2 separate regions of the Homo sapiens genome follow, and region 1 is linked to region 2. Evidence: promoter capture Hi-C in human tissues and cell types (Jung and others, 2019). All regions are on one chromosome and are shown on one strand. The core of a region is centred on a gene start or on the middle of the fragment in contact, and the rest is flanking DNA. Distances in the headings are between cores, read along the strand shown.

Region 1 (6,821 bases), core at 2,543-5,042, 430 kb before region 2:
TTCTCCTTTTGAATTTTGATGGCTTCATGTGTGCTACTTGTGATTTTGGTTCTTTAGAATTCATCCTGAGCATTTTTCCAGAGCTATGCCTAGGAATTCTTGAATTTGTCTTCTGCTCTCTCTCTATCTGGGCTCCACCCTGACTGTAATTCAGTTTGTTAATATGGTAATAAAAAGTCTCTATCAAAGTCCTCTTATGTGTCAAAGTCCTCTTTTGCCACATCTTCCAGTCTACCTTGTGCTTTTCTAAATTGTGATTGGACTTAACCTGTGTACTGATTCTTTTACTTTAAGAAAGTGGCAGTTGTGGACCCCATAAACACAAGAGATGTGTTTACTTCTGAAGTTTTAAAGATTTTTAGGTTTATTATTACAAAAGTAATATATTTGTTTAAACAGTGTGGAATTATATAAACACTGAATGTACTCCTCAACCTCTCTACCTTATGTCTCAGTGATAACAATTGCTAAGGGCTTGATGTGTTTTATTCTAAACTTAATTCTATACAAATATAATTATATAGATATATATTATATATACACACAATTGTTTATCTTTAAAAATAATTCAAATATGGCTACAAAACTTTTACAATATGAAGCATTGTCAGTATTTATTTTACCGGGAGGATTTCCCCCATCAGTGAGTGCTGACTGTCATTTTCATTCTTTATGATCAAGTTGTAGATCAGGAAAAACAAGTTAAGAGAGTGCCTACAAATACCGGGAAAACTTGTGGATAGATTTTCATTTTTTATGTAAAGACATATAAGAACATGAATGGTATAAAAACAAAATCCTTTATAAATGCCATACAATTATATATTTAGAAAAATTATATGGTGGTAAAACATATAAAAGAACCACACACTCCCAAATTTACATTGAGCTAATTTAGTACAGTTAGCCTTTGTCAAAGCTTTCCTTGTTTAAAAAAACTATTGGCTCAGTGTGCAGGAAGGAGCATAGGAGAAAAAATTGCCAAGAATATTTGAAAAATACAGAAAATAAAGAAAAAAATCACCTACTATCCTATCAAAAATTTTAATAGCTAGAATCAGGATAAGATAGAATATTCCTGTGGCAGTAATTCTAGTCTATATTCCTTTCCTGGAACCCTGTCTCCCAAATTTCAGGTGAGATTTTATAAGAAGCTCTGTTTATCTGAGATTTAAAATATAAAAACTTGATTTAACCTATACAGTTTTTTAAAAAGACCCTAAATAAGTAAAATTTAGTACTCCACAAATTGAAGAGAATTTCTCTCTTCTCTTTACTGCCCTCTGAGTTTTCTCTTTCCTTCTCTCACCTCCAATTTTCATGTAAACACTTTCAGTTCGAGTGGACCTTAGAGATTGTCTCATTCAATACTTTAGGAAAACAAATTTTATAGAACCCTTGAGTTCTGTGGAATTGCTTCTAATGAACAACACCTTTTGTTGTTGTTGTTGTTTAGTGACACTGTGTAACAGGCATTTCAGGAGGAGAATCTCCCAGTCTAGAGGAATCCTCTCAGAGGTAGCTATAAAATATTGAACTCTGATCTTCAATAAGCATTGTGCGGTTTTTGTTTTTGTTTTTAATGACAGTTTTAAACAAGAAAGTTGCTTTATTTCTGAACTTCATAAAAATTTCTATTAAAGAGACAATTTCTGAATTTTATAACAATTTCTAGAACAGTTGAGTACCTCACTTTGAGACACATTTTTGCTAAAAGTTAAAAACACAAAACCCTTATGAGATAAAATAGGAAGCTAGTAGAGATAGGAAAGCCCTCTGCTTAGTAAACCTCTTTTTTGCGTAGTTTAGACACATACAATAGTAAAGTTACTTAGTACGTTGATAGTTTTCTTTCTCCTCAAAAGCTACAATGTCTTACTAGCTAGTTCCTTCAAGAAAGGAAACAAGAAGCCGCTGGAGGAGATTGGTGAGTGGGATAAAACACTATTCAACTCTTCAGTTATTCGGTTTTTAAATCCTCAATGAAAGGCTGCTGTATTATAGAGTATTTTTTTTTTATTTTTAATAGACTTAGAACCAAGTTTCTTGAGAAACCTTTGGCATATTGTAGTTTTTTTATGGCTATGACTCACATGACATTACTGTATAAAACTAGTACATTCTCTCGTAAAACCACACAAACTTACTAGAGTGCTGCTCTCATTTTTCTACATTAGAAATGAAAAAGGGCATTGTCTGCATTCAAAATTTCCTTTTTACATCTCTGTATTACTTTTTCCCCTTTATATTTATCTTAAAACCAAAAGAAATAATGTTTCTATTGTTTTACTGTAGTTACCACTGATGCTACCGAAGCTGTATTGTGAGTGTTTCAAAATTCTCAAACCAGTTTTGTGTGTTGTACTTGGAGCTTAGTCATTGTCATACGTAGCAGGACCTGATTAAGAAGGCTGTGCCGCCTCTAAGCCTTGCTAGATTGTAGCCACTAGCAACCAGGCTGCAATAATTTCCCTTTGATGACATCATCCACTGTGGAAGAACCCAGTTGCTTCAGCGAGTCGAACTACAGTTTTAACCTCATCAAATATGGCATCTCCCTTGCTTGCTGCAGCAGGGATGGAAGAAATGTCACTTTCTTTTTAAGCTAGCAAGCTTTTTCTTTTTCTTTTTCTTCTTCTATTTAAAAATTCTAATCATGGATGCTTCTTCCGACCCTTATTTGCCTTATGACGGGGGAGGAGACAGTATTCCCCTGAGGGAATTACATAAAAGAGGTAATACTATCCCCTTGCTGTGAATTCTCTGTTGGTATGTTTTGCATGCGGCTGGGCGGTCCTCTAGCTTAAACTGGTTCTCGTTTGTCCTTTAAATACTGCAGTACGTTGTTTAGTTGCCCTGGGTTGTTAGTAAGGGGAAAATGCAACCTTCTGAATGGTTGTGTAGCCATCCCTGATTGTTTTCTCTGTGCAGATTAGTACTGCTTCAGATCACGTCGGGCTCCGACTCCATCTTCTGCATGAAAATCTTCTTTCTAACTCTGAAAATGAATTAATCTGCTTTTACAGCCAACTAAAGTCGTGTTGGTTGGCATCTAAAAAGTAATGTTTTTCTTCCTTCAGAAAACTTACATTTCCTTTAATTTACACAGAGAAATCAGGTGCCTATGTACCATTATATTTTAGCTGCTGCCAATTACCATGTAGATTTTACACCACAAAGTAAATTTATAGCAAAAGCTTTACCTACATTTTAGAACATTTTAAAATGATAGTAAAGATGAATAATTTCTATATTAATACTTTTTATTTAATATGTATTTCGGCTGAGTAACATACTACATTGTCTTCCACAGGTATCTTGTGAAATTTGATATGATAAAACACATTTGACTAAATGTCAGAAAAAATAATATTGGTTTGTGAAAAGCAGAAGAGCACCCAGCATGCCTGTAAATCTTTTGGCAGGCACTTCCTCAGTCTCCTTAAAATTAATTGCATGTTAATTACTACCCTTTTTTTCATTTTTGTTTAATTGCTTATTCGAAAAACAGACTGGTCGACATTTGTTGTCCTAGAAAAAAATTGAACTTCAAGAAAAATCTCTTAGCTTATGTGACTTCATTTTTGAGCCACATTAGTTTGAATTACTGCATGATATTATAAACTCACCTTATGATTTAACCCAAACTTTTATTTGTAAGTATATAAGGAAGTAATAATGTTTTTCTAATATAATTAGCCTGCTTTATTTAAAATATACTTTGTGTTCTGATAACACTTTTTTTTTAGTATTAAGTTCCACTATAATTTAAACATTATAATGTATTCAACAAATGTCTGTTGGTTGCATTGTGTCTGCTACACACTATTTTAGGGTCTGAACAGTTGTAGCATTATTTATCTTGCAGTATTCTGTAGTTAGTAAAAACTTGCTTTTTACATTTTGAGAAAAGCTGTGTAAGGATCATGTTACATACATTGTGCTTTCTCTTACAGAGTTACCTTCTTAATAAAATTTTGATATATGTGTATATGTATATGTTAGAACATTTGGAAGAAATATCTAAAAGCATAAAGAAGAAAATAATTTCTTGTAATCACACCACCCAGAGCTTTTTAAATTTTTTTTCTTAATGTTACGATCATAAATTCTTCTATTTCCTATGTTCTGATTATCAGTTTTCTGGTAAGGAGTTCTTTAAACAGGAAGCAAGGTGAATGAATAGTGACTGTTCAAATGTCACATTATTTGCTAATCAGTAATTAAACTGTAAAACAAGACAGACTGTATTTTCCTCATGCTATTACAACATTTGGTTGTTAATGATGATAGATCAGAATACCTGGGCTTCAGAAATTTAAATTCCTTTTGTGAAGCTTAACAGTCTTTGACAGAACTTACTTATGGACTGTCTTAGTGTAAAATATGCAAATAATAAGAAATAAGTCAAAACTTATGTGAGAGTAGGCATGGTTACTGATATTACCTAAACGTAAGCTTTTTATTTCTATTATACTTTCATAAATAATCCTTTAAGAATCTTGCTTAGGATCTAAATCAGTCCCACTCTTGGCAGCTCAAATAGGTTCTTTATCCCTTGATGAGACTTATTCTATTAATATAAGTCATTGTTATTTGAAAGTAACATTGTGTATGTGTAGTAGAGATAAGTCAGTTATTAGGCTTTCGTGACTGTACTGTATTACCTCAAACATACTGTAGTATCCTAGTGTCTATGCGTAAGATGTTATTTTTTGTCCATAATTTATGACCTGTTGTAGCCATGGGTCAACACAATGGAATTGATGGAGACAGGCAGCTAACAAATCGAAAAAACTGAATCAGCTTCCCTGTGAGGAAGAACAAAACTATAATGATTAAAATTGATCTTCAGCCTGATAGTGAAGAGGCAGATAAAGTATAAAATTGTGAAGGATATCAATAAAGTAAACATGGATCTGTTTAGTAAATCCCTGAGTGCTATAGCCAAGGATTACCTTTGTTGAGTAAATTGAATTTAATACTACTTTTCAAGGCGAGATGGTAAATGGTGAAGCTTCCTATTTAAGTAAATAATGTCAAGTCTGGAAGTATAAGTAGATTCAAATTAGAATTAGTTTGATATACTATTGATAGATTAGAAATTAAGATGACATTTCAGAAATAGCCATCTTTAGGGGTAGATTTCCTATATAGAAACAATCAAGCTCTCTCAAAATGTCTCTTCCTTTTTTATCAGGAAAAAAGACTTGGCTTATCTGGACTGTTAGTTTTACACTTTTTCTTCTTAATTTGTTCAAGATGTTTAAGTAGTTTTAGAGGTCAAATTTCTTTCTTCTACCAACCCTTTATAATGGATTTGATCTTTTGGGCCTGAGCCTCCATTTACTCCATGAGGGGCCTTTAACAATTATTTAAATATTTAATTGTTTCATTCAGAGTGAGCATATATGTGTGTGTGTGTGTGTGTGTGTGTATATATATGTGTGTGTGTGCGTATATGTGTATATATATATATACATATACACACACATATGGCACTCCTAGGTGCTGTGGAGAATTATAAAAATAGTAATATTAATAATAGTTAATATTTATTAGAATTTCCTGTTAGCTGGATACTGTCCTAAGTGGGTTTTTTTGTTGTTGTTGTTGTTGTTGTTGTTGTTGTTTTCTTAAGAGAGAGGTATCACTTTTTCACCCAGGCTGGAGTGCAGTGGAGTGATTATAGCAAATGCAGCCTTGAACTACTGGGCTTAGATCCTCCGTCTCACCCTCCTTGGTACCTGGGACTGCAGGCTTGCAACACCTTGCCTGGCTAATTTAAAAAACAAAATTTTTTTTTTTTTTAGGGAGAGTCTCACTATGTTGTCCAGGCTGGTCTCCAACTCCTGGGCTCAAGCAACCCTCCTGCCTTGGCCTCCCAAGTAGCTGAGATTACAGGTGCGAGCCACTGTGCCTGGCTTGTTCTAAGTGCTTTATGTGTATGAAATTATTTAAATCCTCATCACAAGTTTATGAAGTAGGTACTGTTATAATCCCCATTTTCTAGTTGACAAGACTGAGGTAAGGAATTGTTAAGGAAAAGTCAGAATTCCATCCAGATATTTGGCTCATACTTTAATCATGAGGCTAAACTGCTTCTCTCTACACGTATCTTCATAGTAACTTGTGTTTTAAGTCTGGTAGAAGCATAAGAAGTTTAAACACAGACAGAATCCTGTGGAAGTTAGTAAATTTCTAGTGAACGATAGAAATGATAGAAATCTCTTCTTCCCCCAAAGTCCCAAGAACAGATTAGTCTGCTTTTGACAAGTGTTATCAAAGTAGACTGTTCTCACATACACAGGGGACTCAATAGGGCATTCCTGGTGGATATAATAAAATGAGTAAATGCGATAACAGGAGGAAATGCCTAGTGTGTTGCTCTTGGATTAGTTTTGATACAACAAAGGCAGCTTTGTTGTGAGTCAGTAGAGAGGGTAGTGTAGAAAGGTGGAAGTTGGAAGAGTGGCAGATCCTAGAGGACTAATGATGGGCTTAAACCACAAAAAGTGTCGCTTTGCCATTGAAATAAAAGTTTGGGGTCTTATTTTTTCAAGTTTCTCCCTGAAATTATTTCTTGACATTCATTAGCTCAGCAGTGTATCTAAATAAAGCTTTTTTGGGTTTCTATTATAATAGAGGTTTGTTCCTTTTTCTTCCCTTTGAAAAGTATCATTTTTTGCACATTATTTGAAAATCCAGGTGTTATATGATATTCTTATTGCCAGAGGGACATTCTGCAGGCTCTTTGTAAAATGATTTTAGGATTCAGATACTTATTATATTTTTATTGGCCCTAATATTTTATCCAACTA
Region 2 (6,822 bases), core at 545-3,044:
CTGTTCTTAATTATCCTTTGAAAACCTTTCCCCAGACCTTCCTAACCATTGAATACTCATTTGGTTAGTATTCAATGACTGAGTATTTGGTCATTGAATGACCAAATGGGTCAATGGCTTTAGAATATTTATGAATGGACCTTAGAATATTTCTTTAATATTCTTTATCAATGGGCCTTAGAATATTTCTTATGAAAATAAGCCAATAAAATTATGTTAAGTATTGATACTTACCCAGCACTCGGAGAATACTGAAGTGCTCTCTTCATCATCTCTTCTCCAAATTGGATGGTCTTTCCATTTTCTACAGTGATTACGGCAGTCTTAAAAGGAAACATGTTTGGATTTGGTAAGCCACCAGCCAAGGAGATCATCGATTTTGGTCCTCTGCTCAATATGTCAGCTACAATACACATGGAAGAGAAGAAACAATTTCATTGAAGATTGTTATAAGCGGATAGTTAAGCATGCATTATAGTCAATAAAACTATAAAGTTTAACGATTTCTAGTGATAGAGTGTGCTATGGTCTAAATGTTGGTGCTCCCCCAGATTCATACTTGGAAGTTAATACTAATGTGATAGTTTTAACAGGTGGGGTCTCTAGAGGTGATTAGGTCAGGAGGGATCCACCCTCCTGAATGGGATTGGTGCACTTATAAAAGAGGGCTGAGGGAATGCCCTTGGCCCTTCTGCCACGTGAGGACATAGGTTCTCCCTTCTACCACGTGAGGATGCAGCAAGATGGCTCTGTCTATAAGGAAGGGCTCTCACCATGGTGACACAGAAGCTGCTGGCACTTTGATCTTAGACTTCCTAGCTTCCAGAACTGTGAGAAATAATTCTATTGTTCATAAATTACCCAGTTTGTGGTATTTTGTTATAGCAGCCTGAATGGACTAAGACAAAAGCTAGTCTAAAATAAACATACAGAATAACTTTTTCTAGGCACCTCACTTGTGGAGGGACTAAAGAATGAAGGTGACCAAAGAGAAGGCAGAGGGATCAGAAAGACAGCAAAGGGCCACAATAGCAGAAGCCCTCCTCCACTTAGCCCCGACCTGTCTGTGAGCTTCATGGCCCACCCCTCTCCCATTTACCTGGCCCTCTCCACTGTACACCCATCTGCACGCTGTGCATGCCCCTTCTCAGCTTCCCAGGAAGAGCCTTTCTTGATAGCACGCCCCCTCCCTTCCAAGGCCGTGCCCCACAGCAGTCTGCGCCTCTCTCTACTGTTGCTCCTACTCTGCTCCAGCAGAAATACCCGCCTTCCGTTTCAGCCCGAGTTCTTTGAGAACAAAGGCTGTGTCTATTTCATTTCTGCACGCAGAGCCTGGCTCACCGCGAGCGTGCACAGGGGTACGCATGGATGCAACCAAGCGGTGGCTTGCTAGGGAACCCTCCTTAGAGGCTGTGCGAGGAATGCCCCACCCCAAAGGAGAGATGGTCACCCCGTTTCTCACTCATGGTCCGGATGGGAGAAGGGTTTCTGGCTGCGCTCGCTGCCGTGATGAACCGTGCGTAATTCATGTCTTCTGACAGCCAAGCATCAAGCTTCTTCTTCAGTGGTTGAGGACTAGAAAAACCAAAGAGCCTCGTCAAGTCCTGCCTGCTAACTCCTCACTCTGGCAACGCCACCGCGAGATGTGTCCCCCCGCTGCGTCTGGCTTCCCGCGCGCGGTGCCCGGAGAACGCCGCCGAAACTCCCCGGCTGGACGCTGCGTTCGGTCTCCCGGTCCTAAACGGGTCTGGGGCTGTGTGGCGAGCCCGGCAAAGTCCACGCCGCACGCGCTCCTGCGGCCGCCAGGGCCCAGGCCGGTTTTGCCCCGCCGCGGGCCTCGCCGCGCCCCCTCCCGCCCCGCGCCGTGGCCTATGGCCGCCCGCGGCGCGCGCCTCCCCGTCCCGGATCATCGCCCTCAGAGCGCAGGGCGCGGGGTAGCCCAGGCGCGAGGCGCTTGCAGCCCCAGGCCAATGACTCTTGACCTCGCCGCTGGGAATCACCGCAACCCGGCGTCCGCGTTGGCCGGCCTAGGCGCCGGCCCAGAGGCTAGCCCAGGGGCTGACCGAGGGGACCGGAAGTGCCCGTGATCCTAATCCTCGGGAACCATCTGGCGGCGACTTGGGTCCACTGCAGGGGGCTCCCGAGCTGCGCCCAGCCGGGAGCGGCCCCACCCTCGTTCCCGCGCGCTCCGCTGGCCTCCTCTCAGTCACTGGGACTGTGCATTTTGCCCGCTCAGACCATGGCTATGCTAAATACCCATCTTTCGTTAGTGAAACTCTGGGCACTCTCCTGGGAAGCATCCCGGCGACCAAGACGAATTTCAACATCACTTTCTCGAAGATCTCAGCATTTTGGAGTGACGATGGAGTTCTGACAAAAATTTTTGAAAAATCACTCTGAGTCTCTTCAATTTTAGTGTCTACCCTCACATTGAATTTCTGACCTTTCGTTAAATAAGAATTATGTTGGAAGTGAATATCCGGATCTTTTTGGGTCTAGCACCTTGCCTTTTTTTTTCTTACAAAATAACCCTTCTTACTCCCCACCTCCCTCAACTTTTCTGCAATTTCTCCTTCCTGAATCACCAAAATGGAATGTACAAGGTTTAATGTGAGCACTTAATGAGGGAAGGGTTTCAGACAACCTCTCTTTGACTTTAAAAAATTCTTTAATGGTTATTAAAATGAATGAACAGATTCATTCATTCAGCACAAATTTACTGAGTACTTCCTAGATGATTATTGACTCACTGCCAAATGGCTCTCTTTTAAGTTTACCTAATAGGTTGGTCAAGGAGCCACTGCTTTTATCTAGGTCCTGGCAGCAAAAGGCTGAGATAACCCAGTAAAATCTTTGTGCTAGCAGCTAAATAACAAAAAGGAAGTATTGAGAGGTGACAGCCTGCTGGCAGCCCTCGCAGCCCTCGCTCACTCTTGGCGCCTCCTCGGCCTCAGCGCTCACTCTGACCGCGCTTGAGGGGCCCTTCAGCCCGCCGCTGCACTGTGGGAGCCCCTTCCTGGGATAGCGGAGGCCGGAGCCGGCTCCCTCAGCCTGCGGGGAGGTGTGTAGGGAGAGGCACGGGCGGGAACCAGGGCTGTGCGGGCGCTTGCGAGCCAGCTAGAGTTCCGGGTGGGCGTGGGCTTGGCGGGCCGGCACTCAGAGCGGCGGGCCGGCTCCGCCAGACCCGGGTAGTGAGGGGCTTAGCACCCGGGCCAGCAGCTGCGGAGGGTGTGCCCAGTCTCCCAGCAATGCCGGCTCACCGGCGCTACCTTCGAATTCTCGCCAGGCCTCAGCTGCCTCCCAGCGGGGTGGGACTCGGACCCGCAGCCAGCCATGCCTGAGCCTCCCCACCACCCACCCGTGGGCTCCTGCGCTGCCCGAGCCTCCCTGACGAGTGCCGCCCCCTGCTCCACAGCACCCGGTCCCATTTACCGCCCAAGGGCTGAGGAGTGCGGGCTCACAGCCCGGGACTGGCAGGCAGCTCCACCTGTGGCCCCAGTGCCGGCTCCACTGGGGGAAGCCAGCTGGGCTCCTGAGTCTAGAGGAGACTTGGAGAACCTTTATGTCTAGCTAAGGGATTGTGAACACACCAATCAGCACCCTGTGTCTAGCTCAGGGTTTGTGGATGCACCAATGGGCACTCTGTATCTAGCTAATCTGATGGGGACTTGGAGAATCTTTATGTCTAGCTAAGGGATTGTGAATACACCAATCAGCACTCTGTATCTAACTCATGGTTTGTAAATGCACCAATCAACACTCTGTATCTAGCTCAGGGTTTGTAAATACACCAATTAGCACTCTGTATCTAACTAATCTAGTGGGGACTTGGAGAACTTTTGTGTGTAGCTCAGGGATTGTAAACGCACCAATCAGCACCCTGTCAAAATGGACCAATCAGCTCTGAAAAACAGGCCAATTGGCTCTCTGTAAAATGGACCAATCAGCAGGATGTGGATGGGGCCAGATAAGAGAATAAAAGCAGGCTGCCTCAGCCACCAGCGGTAACCCGCTTGGATACTTTTGCAGCGTGTGGTGGTTTTGTTTTCTCGCAGTTTGCAATAAATCTTGCTGCTGCTGACTCTTTGGGTCCACATTGCTTTTATGAGTTGTAACACTCACCGCGAAGGTGTGCAGTTTCTCTCCTGAGGCCGTGGAGACCACGCACCCACAGGGAGGAGTAAACAAATCCAGCCGAGCTGTCTTAAGAGCTGTAACACTCACCGCCAAAGTCTGCAGCTTCACGCCAGCAGCCAGTGAGACCACGAACCCACCAGAAGGAAGAAACTCCCAACACATCCGAACCTCAGAAGGAACAAACTCTGGACACACTGACTTTAAGAACTGTTAACACACCGCGAGTGTCTGCGGCTTCGTTCTTGATGTCAGTGAGACCAAAACCCCACCAATTCCAGGCACAGTATCTAGTAAACCTGTTAGAAACCCACGAGGCAAAATGCTTCTGCGTTCAGAGACTTCAAGTAGTTGAAATCCCATTTGATGGCTTAATAGCTGGGTGTCTTTGGACAAGTTAATTAACCTTTCTCTGTATTGGTTTTCTCGCAGGCATGTTGACAGGAATAAATGAGATAATCTGTGTTAAACTAATCAGTGCAGTGGTCTGCACGTTGTAAAAACGCTATGAACATTGGCTGTTGTTAGTAACATGCATTTAAGCAAACCTTAAGGCCTCAGCCTCCAAATGTTTTTGACTAAAGCTATTTGGCAACTTTTAAGGCCTGTTCTCAGTTAATCCATGCACACAGATCCTTATGTGTTTGAGCTTGTCCATTCTAAAAGTAGTTCCTGAATTTTTATAGAAGTTAACAAGCACCGGAAACATCTAAATAAGGTGTAGATCAAGGTAAATTGTAACTTGTAACTAGATATGTTGATGTTCCTGGGGACTTAAGGCTTTTTTTTGATAGGGGAGGACTCTAACTGAGCAAGGTTTCCTTAGATACTTAGAAGAAAATTTAAACTTTGGCCAGGAGGTGTGGTTCACGCCTGTAATCCCAGCACTTTGGGAGGCCAAGGTGGGTGGATCAACTGAGGTCAGGAGTTGGAGACCAGCCTGACCATCATGGCAAAACCCCATCTCTACTAAAAAATACAAAAATTAGCGGTGTTTGGTGGCAGATGCCTGTAATCTCAGCCACTCGGGAGGCTGAGGCATGAGCATTTTTCGAACCCGGGAGGCGGAGGTTGGAGTCAGCTGAAGCCGAGATCACGCCACTGCACTCCAGTGGGGGATTGAGCTGGGGGATAGAGCGAGACTCTGTCTCAATTTAAATTTCTTCCATTTGGTAGTAGGAACCTGTTCGGTCAAAGGAATTTGGAGTGCTGGGCCAAGGAAAAGACCAAAGGTTTTTGTAAGCACGTTGATGCACCCGTCTGTGATTTGTAGTATTTATTACTCACAGGCTATTTATTTTATTTTGAGAGGCAGAGTGTCTAGAGTCTCACTTTGTTATCCAGGCTTGAATGCAGTGGCGCCAACCATAGCTCACTGCAGCCTCGTCTTCCCGGGCTCAAGCATTTCTCTCACCTCAGCTTCCTGGGTAGCTGGGACTACAGGTGAACACCACTACACCAGGATAATTTTTTAAAATACCTTGTAGAGACAGGGTCTCCCTATGTTGCCCAGTCTAGTCTTGAAGTCCTGGCTTCAAGTAGTCCTCCCACTTTGGCCTCCGGAAGTGCTGAGATTACAGGCATGAGCCAGCGCACCTGGCCTCACACAGGCATTTTTAAAAATACGTAATTAATTGATTTTTTTACCCCCTTTCCAATCAGTGGTAACACAATTTAAGGAAGCCAAACTGAAGAGCTGTGAGAGCATCAAATCCTAAGGTGCAGGTTTTCAACCCTTAAACAGTTTGCTGAATTTTCTATTTGGCCTGTCCTGGAGTTGTACTGGTGAGACGGTTGGGGGTGCTGATTGATTGCAAGCTGGCTGATGATTCAGGCCAGATGGAGAGGCAGAGAAATGGCCCATCAGGGCAGGCTAATGGAATGCAGGGGCACTGGGGGGTCATGATCAGCAAATGCAAGGCAGAATATAGTCACAGTGGTGGGGAAGGGACAAGCAAGGGTTAAGTTGGGAAGAGCTTACCAGACAATAGAAGCTGAAGACTGAAGGTAAATTTGATTGCCAGAGAAACTAGACTTTGGATTTGTCAGGCACCAACAGCAGAAGGCTTCTCCTGAGGGACTAAGATAAATGAGCAAGGTTCATAGCTCAGTGTTGCCTTTTTAGAAGCTTGGCTTAGGACTGCCCAAGGACGGAATTAAAGACACCAGATTCTTTCTCCAAACATTTACTGAATTCTTACTCTGTTCTAGGAACTGTAATTGATTTAAAAAGATAACTATGACAAGTCACTACTCTTGAAAAGGAACTGTTTGTACATTAAGACATCAACAATTTCAGATAATACAATGTTTGTGGCAGAGGCAGGTACAAGCTGCTAAGGAAAGCAGAGAGAAGGAAGTCTTTTTCTTCTTCTCCTCTCCCCTCCCCTCCCCTCTCCTTTTCTTTTCTTGAGTATCCCTTATCTGAAATGCTTGGGAACAGAAGTATTTGGGGGTTTTGGATTTCTTTACATTTTGGAATATTTGCATATACATAATAAGATACCTTGGGGATGGAACCCAATCCTAAACATGAAATTCTCATTTACATTTCATATACGCCTTATGCACATAGCCTGAAAGTAATTTAATACAATATTTAAAATAATTTTGTGCATGAAACAAAGTTCATGTACATTGAACCACCCATGTAGGCCCTCTGTGGTTGTTTGGCATCATCATCATTCC

What was found. The method cuts DNA at HindIII sites, captures the fragments that hold promoters and counts their contacts. A contact is called where the count stands out against the background at its distance.
Region 1: a fragment that was not itself captured here is called in contact with the fragment with the promoter of AADAT in region 2 in 2 of the 25 tissues and cell types used here (dorsolateral prefrontal cortex and hippocampus).

What each region holds. Positions count from the first base shown.
Region 1 is chr4:169,657,714-169,664,534 of GRCh38, forward strand. All of the region lies in intron 2 of CLCN3 (chloride voltage-gated channel 3), which reads left to right. Among named protein-coding and RNA genes, the nearest start is that of CLCN3, 41 kb to the left of the region's middle. RefSeq lists enhancers at 2,465-3,337, 2,520-2,619 and silencers at 2,920-2,979, 6,225-6,519. The HindIII fragment of the contact is 4,052 bases long and covers 1,767-5,818 here.
Region 2 is chr4:170,088,162-170,094,983 of GRCh38, forward strand. It overlaps AADAT (aminoadipate aminotransferase), which reads right to left and starts at 1,795. Exons shown (of 13, transcript NM_016228.4): 1 at 1,463-1,795; 2 at 235-403. The coding sequence starts at 1,529. RefSeq lists a silencer at 1,017-1,311 and an enhancer at 3,211-3,905. The HindIII fragment of the contact is 6,677 bases long and covers 694-6,822 here.